2 separate regions of the Homo sapiens genome follow, and region 2 is linked to region 1. Evidence: promoter capture Hi-C in 16 types of primary human blood cells and fetal thymus (Javierre and others, 2016). All regions are on one chromosome and are shown on one strand. Each heading gives the region's core, a stretch centred on a gene start or on the middle of the fragment in contact. The rest is flanking DNA. Distances are from core to core; before and after follow the strand shown.

The links. Contacts are between HindIII fragments. The CHiCAGO score rates a contact against its expected background, and 5 or more counts as called.
Region 2: the fragment with the promoter of NCOA2 here is called in contact with the fragment with the promoter of SLCO5A1 in region 1 in 3 of 17 cell types (total B cells, naive B cells and neutrophils); the score reaches 24.4 in total B cells.

Annotation. Positions count from the first base shown.
Region 1 is chr8:69,830,611-69,836,863 of GRCh38, reverse strand. SLCO5A1 (solute carrier organic anion transporter family member 5A1) reads left to right here and starts at 1,886. Exons shown (of 10, transcript NM_030958.3): 1 at 1,886-2,010; 2 at 3,695-5,097. The coding sequence starts at 4,191. SLCO5A1-AS1 (SLCO5A1 antisense RNA 1) reads right to left here and starts at 2,752. Exons shown (of 4, transcript NR_186568.1): 1 at 2,671-2,752. RefSeq lists silencers at 1,621-1,730, 3,821-3,910 and enhancers at 2,051-2,130, 3,561-3,630. The HindIII fragment of the contact is 8,160 bases long and covers 1,338-6,253 here.
Region 2 is chr8:70,401,910-70,408,093 of GRCh38, reverse strand. It overlaps NCOA2 (nuclear receptor coactivator 2), which reads left to right and starts at 4,286. Exons shown (of 23, transcript NM_006540.4): 1 at 4,286-4,394. RefSeq lists silencers at 3,510-3,669, 4,360-4,669, 4,710-4,999, 5,030-5,689 and an enhancer at 3,770-3,889. The HindIII fragment of the contact is 4,231 bases long and covers 2,994-6,184 here.

The sequences.
Region 1 (6,253 bases), core at 637-3,136:
GTCCTATTGCCTGTTTGTAGAAAAGTGACTGTGCCTGATGGCGATCTCAAGAGGAGGAGACAATGGCAGGGAATGAAGAAATGCCTCGGTTGATAGGTCAGTCTTGCAGCTGCCAGAAGATTGATGCTCTCTCAGCATGGACTTCAAATACACACTGATTGTTCTTTACTGTCAACTGGCCTTAATTGTTCTCTAAGGATCGCTGTAGATACGACGGTTGTTGGACTAAAGGGAGATAATCAAAAGAATCAAGGTGCATTGACGAGTCAGGATGTTATTCAATGGCAGGAGAGAGGGTAGAGAGTCAGGGTTAAGAGGTTAAGTAAGAACATAGTCTTTTGGAGCACATTGGTTCATATTGTCTACAGAGCAGCTGTGTGCCTATATAAAGTTACTTAACCTCTCTACACTTATCACATCTGTAAAATGGAGACAATGCTTTCATTGGGCAAGGCCAAGGGCCAGTGGAGGGGCTTCGACCTGGCAGCAATGGCCAGCATGGTCACTGGTACTTGTGAGCAACCTCCTTTCCTCCATTAGAGCACTATCCTGCTCTGTCAATGGTCACAAGTGCCCTCAGATACTCTTTTTTTTTTTTTTTTTCAGTTATCATCCTGTTTGTCTTCCCTGCAGCCTGTACACATCTGACCCTTCCCTTCTTACAGTCGTCTGCTCTTTTGGCTTTTCTGATGCGTCCCACACCTCTCTGACCCTTGCTTCCAGTCTCCTTCCTTTGGCTGTACGCTGTCCTCCTAGATTCTTCACAATTTGGATGATCTTCCCTATTCATTCCATCCTTTCTCATGCCACCTTTGGGCTGATGACTACTGATCAATATTCCTAGTCCAAACCTCCTGTGTGTCCAGTGGCTTATGGGACACGTACACTGGGATGTCCCCCAAACATTTCAAACTCAACACATGTAGATGAGAACAATCTTTCTCCTAAAGCATGTTTCTCCACCTGTGCTTTTATTGGCTGTCAGGCACGTAGTCACCCAACTTGGTGCTAGAAACTTGGGAGTCATCCTACCTCGGCTGGTTTTCTTCTCTTGCAGATTGCATCAGCTGCCCAGTTCCCTCCTCTCCATGCCCCCTGCCAATGCCTCATCACATTTTGCTTTCAGACTGCCTCCCAACTCACTTCTGTGCCCGCAGTGTGGCCTCACATCTGTCTACCTGTCACTGCCAGAGCCAGCTCTCTGGTGAGGAAGTCAGAACGTCATTGCCCCCACATTATTGACAGTACACAACTTAGGAAACCCGTAGTGCCCCTTTCTACTCAGCCACTCTTGCAGTCTGGTCCTCTGCCCCATCCCTGCAATCTTCTAGGAAGCTTATCTACCTATTGACTGGCAGCACCATGCCCCCGTGCCTCTGTTCTTCCTGCTGCGTGGAAATGAAGGCTAATGGATATTGGCTACTCCAGTAGCAGGCTGCATAGATGTACCACGTTGTTTTAAGCCATTTACATGAGTATTTCCCCCACAAGCCAGAGGTTTCCTCCGACCAAGTATCTTGTCTTGTTTATCTTTGGTCCCAGAATCTACTATGGTGAATGAGACATGGTGTGTGCCCAAGGCACGGAATAAACGATCAGAAATGATTTATTTATTCAGAGTGGGCTGTCAGCTTCAGCCGCTGACTTTTCTAGAGACCGGCTCCCTCGGGGCTTCAGCGCTCTTGGGCCCCCGCAGCCACGCAGGTGAAGGGCAGCGGGGTGGCTGGCTGTGGGAGGGCTGGGCTGGGTGGCTGCCCTCGCGCCTGCGCCCTCGGCTGCTCCTCTCCGGGCGCGTCTCTGTGCGCGTGTGTCTGTTTGGAGCGGAGGAGAGGCTTGGGTGACAGGCGAGGGGTGGGGGGAAGAGTTCAGCCTGAGTCACAGTCTCATTCACTGATTTCTCTTCGGCTGGACGGAGGCTGCCTCCTCACGCGGCTCCCAACTATTCCCGTAGCTCAGTGCCCCCCTCCCGCCGCTCTACTCAGCCAGGCAGACAGACTGACAGACTCGCTAGTGAGTAGCGGCGGCTTGAGCGCCCGGGCAGCGCGGCGGGCTGTCGCCGGCGGTCTTGTCTTCCCACGGGCTCTGTGTGTGTGTGTGTGTGTGTGTGTGTGTGTGTGTGTGTGTGTGTAGGATGTGCGTGTATGTGATGTGCGCGCAGGGGGTGTCCCTGGGATTCCACGCCTGCTCCAAGAGCTCCCTGCCGGGATCCGCGTGTCCATCCGAGTCTGCGATGCTGTGAGGGCGCTCGCCTAAGCAGGGGGTTCGGACGCCCCCCGCGAGCGGCGAGAGTTTGCTGGGATTCCCCGGCTCCTCACGCAGCGGCTGGTGGGGTTCCCCGGGAAGGCGCCTGGGTAAGGCAGCGGCGGGGAAGCCCGGGATTGTGAGTGGCTGGCAGGCCGGGAATCTGGGAGCGGGTTTGGCCCAGCACAGCCGAGGGAGATGCCGGAGCGGCCACCCTTGGCCGCCCAGCCTCTCTGCCTTTCTCCCTTGCCCTTCCTCCTTTCTTTTCTCAGCAGCATCACAAAGGCGCGCTGCAAAATGAAACCCAGTGTAGTGAAGCTCGGCTGTCTCCCACCTGGTGCATATTCCGCCCCCCGTCCTTGCCCCAGGCTGGAGGAGTGGAGTGGGGGTCCCCAAGATTAGGGGCGGGGTCTTACCACGGGGGCACACCTGTTTTCGATTCTTGCTGAATTCAAGCTGGGTGCGGGATCGCGAGAGAGGTTCCAGTACGCCGGTGTGTGTGTGTGTGTGTGTGTGTGTGTGTGTGTGTGTGTGTGGCCGCGCACGCGCACACGCTCCCCAGGCCCACGCTAGCGGGGTGCGCTCAGTCAATAGCACACCTCCCCGCCGGCCCGCGTGCGCCCAGCCGGCTCCGTGGGCTCCTCGCGCGCTCTCTGACAGCGTGCCGGGATCTCTTTGTTTGGTTGTGGCTTCCCTAGCTCTCGGCAAAGCAGACGGATTTTCGGTTTCGTTTGATACCGCGCTCTGGGACTTAGTGCGGGCCACAGCCTCGAATGCCCCTGGTATTTGTAATTGAAGAGTTCTTTCGGTCAGGGGGTTATTTTTGGTGTTGGGAATAAAGAGGCAAGCATGTTGACCTTTTTGCTGCTGCCTTCGGCTTTGAATGTGTGTCTCTGGTGGAGCAGACAGATTCAAATCTAGTCGCGCACACGTGCCAACGCACACCAGTGTGCACACACATTTCTACACACGTAGTTTACCCCCACCTTCTTTTTTCCTTTTAGAAAAATTGGGACAGGGAATACATTGTGTGTCTGTGAAAAAGTTTCCTTTGTTCTTTTGGGCATTTTCTATTTTGAGTAATGGAGTAGGAGTACGGAAAGGCTGCAGTTAGTTCACTCGATTAAAAGACACTGCCTCTGAGTCAGAGCTGCCAGGTTGATAATTATTAACATATAAAAGCAAACGCAATGTTTAAGGCAGAAGGGGCGGGACGGGGGCAGGTCCGCGGCAGACAATGAGGGAGAGTCTCCGCCGACCGCCTGCTGCTTATTGTTCCGGGACTGGAGACTGCAGCCGGCTGCTGCCTAGTCCTCCGGGGCTCCGCTCCTGACTAGCTCCTCCGTCCCTCTAGGGACGGTTCGGGGTCACCTAACCCTGGTCCCCGGGGCGCTGGGACGCTAGCCCCAAGCCGCAGCCGCTCTTCGCTGACCGCCCTCTTTCTGCTTTGCAGGTCGGCAGCTTCACTCCCGAGGGTGCCGCGAGCCCAGGCGGCGAACACCCGGTACCCCTGGCGCAGCGAGGTGGGATGCTGTACGGACAGCAGCGCTAAGTGCCCCCCCACCCCCGGCGCAGGGTGCACTCGCTCCTGGCCGCGGGCCCAGCGGCGGCGGCGGCGGCGGCGGCGGAGGGGATGAGCCCGGGACGCGCGAGGCGCCTGCCTCAAGCTACCGCCCGGAGAGGGACGCCGAGTAGGGCTCATCGCAGTACCGCGCGGACCCCTGCCCCCTGTGGCACGCGGCTGCGGAGCCTTGAAGCCGTGTCTGTGATCAGGATGCACTGGGCGCCTCGCAGCTGGTGAGGATGCCCTGCTGCGCGGCCCTGCGCCCCCAGCCCCAGTCCCAGGTGGGCAAGACTGACTGGGCCCGGCTTCGGCCCCTCGTGCCGGTGGATGAAACGTGCCGGAGTGCTTGGGTGCCATCAGCTATCAAATCTGAATTCTAAGCGCCATGGACGAAGGCACTGGACTGCAGCCCGGGGCGGGAGAGCAGCTGGAGGCGCCGGCCACTGCAGAAGCTGTCCAAGAGAGGTGCGAGCCGGAGACCCTCAGGTCTAAGAGTTTACCGGTCCTCAGCAGCGCCTCCTGCCGGCCAAGCCTCAGTCCCACTAGTGGAGACGCCAACCCGGCCTTTGGCTGTGTGGATTCTTCGGGCCACCAGGAGTTGAAGCAAGGCCCGAACCCGTTGGCCCCCAGTCCCTCTGCCCCGTCCACTTCGGCGGGGCTCGGGGACTGTAACCACAGGGTGGACCTCAGCAAAACCTTCTCGGTGTCCTCCGCCTTGGCCATGCTCCAGGAGAGAAGGTGCCTCTACGTGGTCCTCACGGATTCCCGTTGCTTCCTGGTGTGCATGTGCTTTCTGACCTTCATCCAGGCGTTAATGGTCTCTGGGTACCTGAGCAGCGTAATTACCACCATTGAAAGGCGCTACAGTCTGAAGAGTTCCGAGTCGGGGCTGCTGGTCAGCTGCTTTGACATCGGGAACCTGGTGGTGGTGGTGTTCGTCAGCTACTTCGGCGGCCGGGGTCGGCGGCCCCTGTGGCTGGCCGTGGGTGGACTCCTCATCGCCTTCGGGGCAGCCCTCTTCGCCTTACCTCACTTCATCTCGCCCCCCTACCAGATCCAAGAGTTGAACGCCTCGGCCCCCAACGACGGCCTGTGTCAGGGTGGCAACTCCACCGCCACTTTGGAGCCTCCGGCCTGTCCGAAGGACTCGGGAGGAAATAATCACTGGGTCTACGTGGCTTTATTCATTTGCGCGCAGATTCTCATTGGAATGGGCTCCACACCTATTTATACCCTGGGACCAACCTACTTAGATGACAATGTCAAGAAAGAAAACTCCTCCTTGTACCTAGGTAAGACTTTCCTGTTCTCTCAGATATGTTTCACTCACACTGAAACTTACTTTCCTTACAAAAATCAAAAGGAAACATGTTCTTTCACATTTTCATGTATATTATAGATTAAAGTTCACTTTATTTTACGTTTTAGCCTTGCTGTAGTGTGTTTTCAGTTTGGGAGAGAATCAATTAGTTGAGAGTTCTTGAAACTAATTTTCAGACTCATACTTCATGTTTGTCTTTTCCCAAGTAACATAAACTTTAAACTGTGGGGTGATGCTTCTCTCTGTTGCTACCTACCTATGGAAAAGCTCCAATTTGTCAAGTTTATATTCTAATACACTTGTTGAGGAAGGAATAGCAGTACCTCATGTGTAAAGTTTTGATGATTTTCTGCTTCTATCTGCTGCTGCTTCTGATTTCTGTCCAGAGCAGCAGGGATGGTGGCGTGGCCAGACTACATACATCATGCTTTATTGCCTTCATACCTGTGTTTCTTTTCTTTTTTTTTTTTTTCTTTTTAAGATGGAGTCTTGCTCTGTCACCCAGGCTGGAGTGCAATGGCATGATCTCAGCTCACTGCAACCTCCGCCTCCTGGGTTCAAGTGATTCTTCTGCCTCAGCCCCCGAGTAGCTGGGATCACAGGTACCCATCATGCCTGGCTAATTTTTGTAGAGATGGGGTTTCACCATGTTTGTCAGGCTGGTCTTGAACTCTTGACCTCAGGTGATCCACCCTCCTTGGTCTCCCAAAGTGCTGGGATTCATACCTGTTTTTCTTATACGTCACCTGCACCACTATCTAAAAACAACAACAAAAATTTGAATAATGTCAAATGACTGGCTTACCTTTATGAAGAAGCAACACCACAGGTTATAAGGTTTATCCAAAGCTATTTTTATTGCTGTCAAAAACCCTCAATTGTATGAACTTGGGAGAAGAATCCATTCCTATTTTTCTGAAAAGCCGTGGCTGTGGGATTTGGTGTGTTGACTTGCATAAGTCAGCATCAGTGGACAGGGGTGCTTGAGTTAAGTACAGGGGGCTCATCTGAGGCCAGGCAGCAGTTGCAGAGGGTATGAAAATTTACATCCTAGAAATTTGAGGTTGTTAGCACCTCCCTGTAGTAGCTGGTTCTTAAAAACTGAACTTCTAAGGGATGGATTTGAA
Region 2 (6,184 bases), core at 3,037-5,536, 570 kb before region 1:
TGTGGGTGTATTAATATTTGTTTTTGCTTGAGAAATAAGGGAGGTATGAATAGAGGGGGAGAAATAAGGGAGGTATGAATAGAGGGGGTATATCAAAGAGGTTCTTAATCTAAGATGAAGGATTTGAATTGTATTCCATAGTTAATGAAGGATCATTAAGTGTTTTCAAGTGGGAAAGTAACAAAATAAGACTGAGGGGATCAATCCTGTGACAGTGTACAGTATGACTTGAAGGGAGCCCATTCATTCATTTATTCATTCTTTTCATGATCATTTATTGAGTATGCATTATGTTCTAGGAGACAGAGTCTTGCTCTGTCACCAGGCTGTAGTGCAGTGGTGCGATCTTGGCTCACTGCAACCTCCGCCTCCCGGTTCAAACAATTCTCCTGCCTCAGCCTCCCAAGTAGCTGGGACTACAGGAGCGCGCCACCACACCCAGCTAATTTTTTTTTTTTTTTGTATTTTTAGTACAGACGGGGTTTCACCATGTTGGCCAGGATGGTCTCAATCTCTTAACCTCGTGATCTGCCTGCCTCGGCCTCCCAAAGTGCTGTGATTACAGGCGTGAGCCACTGCGCCCAGCCAATGTGTTTCTCAGAGTAGTAGAAATACAAGTGATGAAGAGTAGAATCCTAACACAATCTTAGATATGCAGCGAAGGCAGTTCTATGACTTTGCATTAATTTACTTGAAGTCTCTGAAGCTCAGCTTTATTGTACATAAAATGAGAATAATATACATACAATGACTACTTCAGTAAGGAAAAAATTTATGTAATATGCTTGACTTATATTAGACATTTGTTTATTGTAGTTATACTATTTAAGGGATTTAGAAGAGAGCAAACAATAAGAATGAAACATTTCATCACAGTCGTTCAATAATCAAATTGACAAACAAATGTTTTAACTGACGCCCCCACCCTATGATTACATTTTAATAGAATGAACTATAGATTTTTGCTTTGGCAATTTAGGAATGCACCAAAACAGAGATAACTGTGCTACATATTAGCTGACATAATAATATTCCCTTACATCTGTATAAAGAGCTTGATAGTTAACAAAGTACATTTATTTACACCATTTTGAGTCTTGCAACAATTACACAGATGAGGAAATTGCGATATTTAGTGACTTGTTTGAGGTCACACAGTAACTTACAGAGACCACTTCACATCATATTTATTTGCTTATATTCTATAGCTCTTTTTTACCATACTGTTACCTCTAATCTCATGATGTATGCTAGTAGTATTAACTCAAAAATAGTATAGAATCTCCCACTTTTATGCAGTTTACTTATGAAAAAAGTGAGTACTTTGAAAACTGTGGAAGAAAAGGCAGACAAAAATAGAAATTCTTGTCTTGTAGCAGTCATATTGTTCTGATTATTCCTAGGTTATATTGTTAAATATATAATTTGTCATTTTCTTTACTTTTCCATGCTGCATTTATGATTCTGCTGACATTTTTGGTGTTTCCTTGCCTCATCCATTCACGGTATGTTATTTCTACTTCCACTAAATTTCAATAATTTCCTTCCCCTTTATGATCTGCACCCACATATTTTTTCCTTGTTGTTCTCTCTTGGTAATATACCTAGTTCCTATATCTTTGCCTTCTTTTTTCTTTCCTTCTTCTTCCTTTCTTAATTTGTGTCATTGAGCCAACTTATTTACCGCCTCCTCTACCTTTTCATTTTACATTATCATAGTGATGATTCACTAAAAATTATGGCTAGTTTTAATAAACAATTGTTCTGAGGTCTCATGGGAATCAAAGTTCTTTCTAAGTATGGAAGATGTTTTTTATAAACATGTTTTATGAGCAAGGGATTGGAAGATGAGGTGGGGAAGAGGACATGAGGATCGGAATAGATACTATTATTTATATTTCACAAATTCAATGAAACAACAAACATCATACATTCCTTGTTAGGTGCTATAGCATGTACAAACAAGAACAAGACTAGGTCTTGGGCTCTGTTGCACTTACAATCTAGTGAAAGAGAAAGACAAACATATAAACAACTCTAGTGCAAGACAGACTACTGTTACAGCAAGAGCCTGAAGTTCAGAGGGCACCCAGAGATTGTACCAGAGCGCGTTTAAGTCACACAATTCAATTCAAGCTCAGGCAATTGAGTAGCACTTGGGCATGGAACTCATCTACTATGCTGTCAGACGTTTTTGTTTATTTCTTGTAAGAAAAAGTCTTCAGCCGTCGTAAGACGTTTTATTGGGTAATACGGGAATGCAATGGGGGGAGTCATTTGTTTGCAGAGGTATCATGGGTAGTTTTAAAAAGTGTGAAATCTACGATTGCAGAGGACTGATAGACTCTGGACTTCTGCCAAAATGGGAGGGATAGCAAGCAAGAAGGAGAATCTTTTTTTTAAATTTTTATTTATTTATTTATTTATTATCACAACTCCTGATAACTCACAGTTGGGGGTGAGGACAGGAAAGCAAATCGGGAGTTCAGAATTGTGACAAACCTCAGGTGACTACTACCCCATTGTAGACAAGCTACAGACTGGTATTAGCAGAAGATAGGCCATAAACAAACTCTCCATTTCCTCTCAACGCTTTGGGAACATAATTCTATTATTCCAGCTAGCTAAAAAAAAAAAAAAAAAAAAAAAAAAAAAACCTTTAAAAATATACATTAATACATAGTCAATGCAAACATTTCAAACATTAGATAGGTGTGCAAAATAAAAAGTGGAAGTGCCTCATCACCCACTTCTTACACTCCCCAGCGCTAACATTTGTTGTTATAGGCTTCCAAGCATTTTCTATCCACAAACAAACACAGACACACACACCCCACACATTTTTTTTATTCTTTTCCCAAATAAAATTGGCGGTACACCCACAAATTTTAGGATGAAGACATGTTTAAAAGCATGGGCTTTGGAGCTCACCAGAACTGGGCTCACATCCTCTCCAACTACTGGCTGTGACCCTGGGCAAATTACTTTAAGCTTCAATTTTTTGTGTGAAGTGAAAAGCGGCAATGACTTCGGAAGGTTTGAGGATTAAGGCCTATAGCATATATACATCACCTAGCACAGTCAGATTCACAGTAAGTGTTCAATAAACACTCTTATTGTCTACCGCAAGTGACCTTTCTCATTATAAGATTAAAATCAGGGAATATGTTCCTCTCATAGTTTGATAACTGCCATTAAACAAAAGTTTTTTTTTTCAACTAATTACCGTATAAGTTGGAAAAAAAACTTGCTTTTCCAAAGCGTAAAACAGATTGGTCTAAGTAACACTTAAATGGGGGTTCTCGCATTTTCAGTGCCAATCTCCTACGTCCCCTCAGTACTTTGTTCACGGATGTCTAGAGAATGGACTTTCCAATACAAACTTATGATTTCATGATGTGCCGAAAATTCTCAACCAGGTTAAGTTTCACACTCTGTGTGCAGCATTTGCTTTATCCCGCAATTGCCGGGTGGTGCCCCTTCCAGCTCCCACAGTCGCGCCTCTCCATCCCCTCTGGAGCTAGGACTGCAATGGGAGAAGCCTCTCCCTGTTGGAGCCGTAGGGGACTTGACGGATGCGGGGCGCCTCCGGGGAGCAGCGGCAGGACCGGGAGTTGGGTAGGGTGAGGTGCGCCCGAGGGGGTGCAGGGTGCTGGCCGAAGGGTCCGGCCGGACGGGCGCGAGGGTCCTCTGCTGGCGACCCTGGAACTCGGCTCTCCCCGATCTTCGTCCTGGGGCACCGTCCCTGCCGTCTGCAGCCCCCAGGCCCCACTGCCTCTAACTCAGCGGCCCAGGCCCGTCCCAGTCGCTAGTTTTCTTTTTGGCATTGCCCTTTGCCCTCCCATGCAGTCCTCTGTTGACTCTCTCTTCAGTTCCAGTCACCTCTAGGTCACCCTCCCTCTACCACAGTCACCCATTTTGTCCCCTGTCCCCTTACTCTTCTTCACCTCTCCCCGGGCCGCCTTCTCAGAGGACTCTGCCGACGGAGATGCTGCGGACCCCGCGGCCAGGGGCTGCTCCCCGGACAACCCTGCGTCCACCTTTGCCCCTTCCTCGGGGGCGCGAGAGGCAAGTTTCCGCCCCGTCCTTTTCCCGGTGACAGGACTTGGCGGCGGCCACTGCCGGGGAGGCAGAGGGAGGGACGGCCTGGCTCCCGAGCCCCCTCCCCTGCTCGCGAGCTCGCGCTGTCTGTCTCTCCGCAAGTGCGGAGACGCGGAGGAGGAGGAGGAGGAGGAGGAGGAGGAGGGAGTTGGGGGAGGATCTCCATTGAAATAAACAACCAGGCAGCAGTTATTAACACGGGAACATGGCGGCCGCAGCCTCGGCTACAGCTTCGGCGGCGAAGGTCAGCGCCGACGGCAGCCGGCACCTGACGGCGTGACCGACCCGAGCCGGTAACCGCGCCTTCCCCCGGGGCCGCGAGGGCGGGCGGGGGGCGGGCGGCAGGCGGGGGGCGCCGCGTCCCCACCCCCGGCCGCGACTGCCCTTCCTGCGCCGAGCTCCGACAGAGCCGTGCGCCTCCGAGAGGCTGTTTTTGTGTGCGGGGACCGCCGCCGGAGTGCGCGGAAAACGGGAGTTGCATCCCGGAGGCGCAGCGACGCTGGGGAGTTGGGGCTTGGGGGTGGGGAGGGCGGGAAGCGACGGGGAGACGCGGAGTCCCCGGGAGAGAAAGGAGGCGCTCCAGCGCCTTGCGAGAGCTCAGGAGACGAGTCCCGGAGCGCGAGGCGGGCGGAGGCTGCAGCCCGCGGCGCGGGCGAGAGGTGAGCGCCGAGGCGCGGCCGGGGGTGCGGGCGCGGCCCCCGCCCCGAGGAGCGAGTGCCCATTGCCCAGCCCGGTGCGGGGTCGGCGGAGACCGAGGCTCTAACCCCTCGGGGGCAGCGCGGCAGAGCCGAGAAGGTGAATCCTGGGAAGGTGCATTCTTTAATGGAAGCGCGGAGCGGCTGCAGCGGAGAGTGGGAGCCGGGCGAGGGGAGGCAGGACTCGGGAAGTGCTGGGGGTGTGTGAAGGTGAAGCGGGGTGTCGGGGCGGCCGGCGAGCTGCAGCGCGGGGCGGGGAAGGGGAGCCGCGGCCCGGCGGGTGGCCCGGGCCCGTGTCAGCCCCGGGGGTGGGGGGCGAGGGGCGCCGAGCACCGCGGGCGGACGGGAAGGAGCTGCGGCGGGCGGGGCGGGCGGCGCGCTGGGGCCGAGCAGGCCGGGCCGTGGTGGGGGCGGGGAGCCGGGGGCCGGGCCCCGGCGGCGCCGAGCCGGGCTCGCCCCTGACTGAACTTTCTGGGTGCGGGCGTGTATGCAGGAGGCGCGCTGGGGCCGGGGCCGGGGGCGGGAGGCGGACCGGGAGGTTCCGGGTTGGCTCGCCAGCGCCCCCTTTTCTCGCCCCCTTCTCTCCGCCCCTGAAGGGACAGGCCCTCGGGGCCCCAGGCGGGAAGCGGGAGGGGCCCTGTGGCCGCCTCGCGACGGTCACGCCCCGGGCACGGGGACCCGGCCCTCTCGGGCCCCTGGGGGGTGCTGGGGGAGGGGGCCGGGGTCGTCGCTGCCGGCTGCGCTCCCCGCCTCCTCCCCTCGGGGGAGTCCCAGAGGCGCCTCTTCCGAGACCGGGGGTGGGTCGGTCCCTGGTTAGATGGCCCCTCCCTCTTCCCCTCCCTCTAGTGGTTTCCGGGGCCTGCGGGACCGAGGGGCGGGAATCGGGGACTGGAGCCCCCTTCCGCTGGCCCGGAGCTGGACTGGGCCTCCCGCGTTCTGGGTCCGTCACTGGTAGGGGAAACTTTCCCAAACCAGAGACCGAGCCTGAACACCTTCCTCCGCCACCTCGTCCTCTAATCCCACTCCCTCTCCACCTCCTCCGACGCCTTCCCCTCCCACCGACCCGAATCTCGGTGCGTCTGACTGATGGGGCAGTGAGCCAATCGAAGGCAGGGAGCTGACCTGCCGGGTGTCGGTGAGCCAATCGTGCGGACCGGAGGAAGGAAGGGGGCGGGGTTTCTCCTGACCAGTTAGAGCAGAGTTGCATGCGGGGCGGGGGAGTCATGGAGACGCTGAGAGCCAGCTACTCTTGTCCATCCCCGAGTCACCCGCTCCTTGATTTCTGGGGTTGTGTCACTTATAGGGGCTCCGACCCGCAGAGGCTGCCGAGGCACTCGAGGTCCTGTATGTCTTTCGTACCGAAATAGACGTTGTCTTAGACACGACGA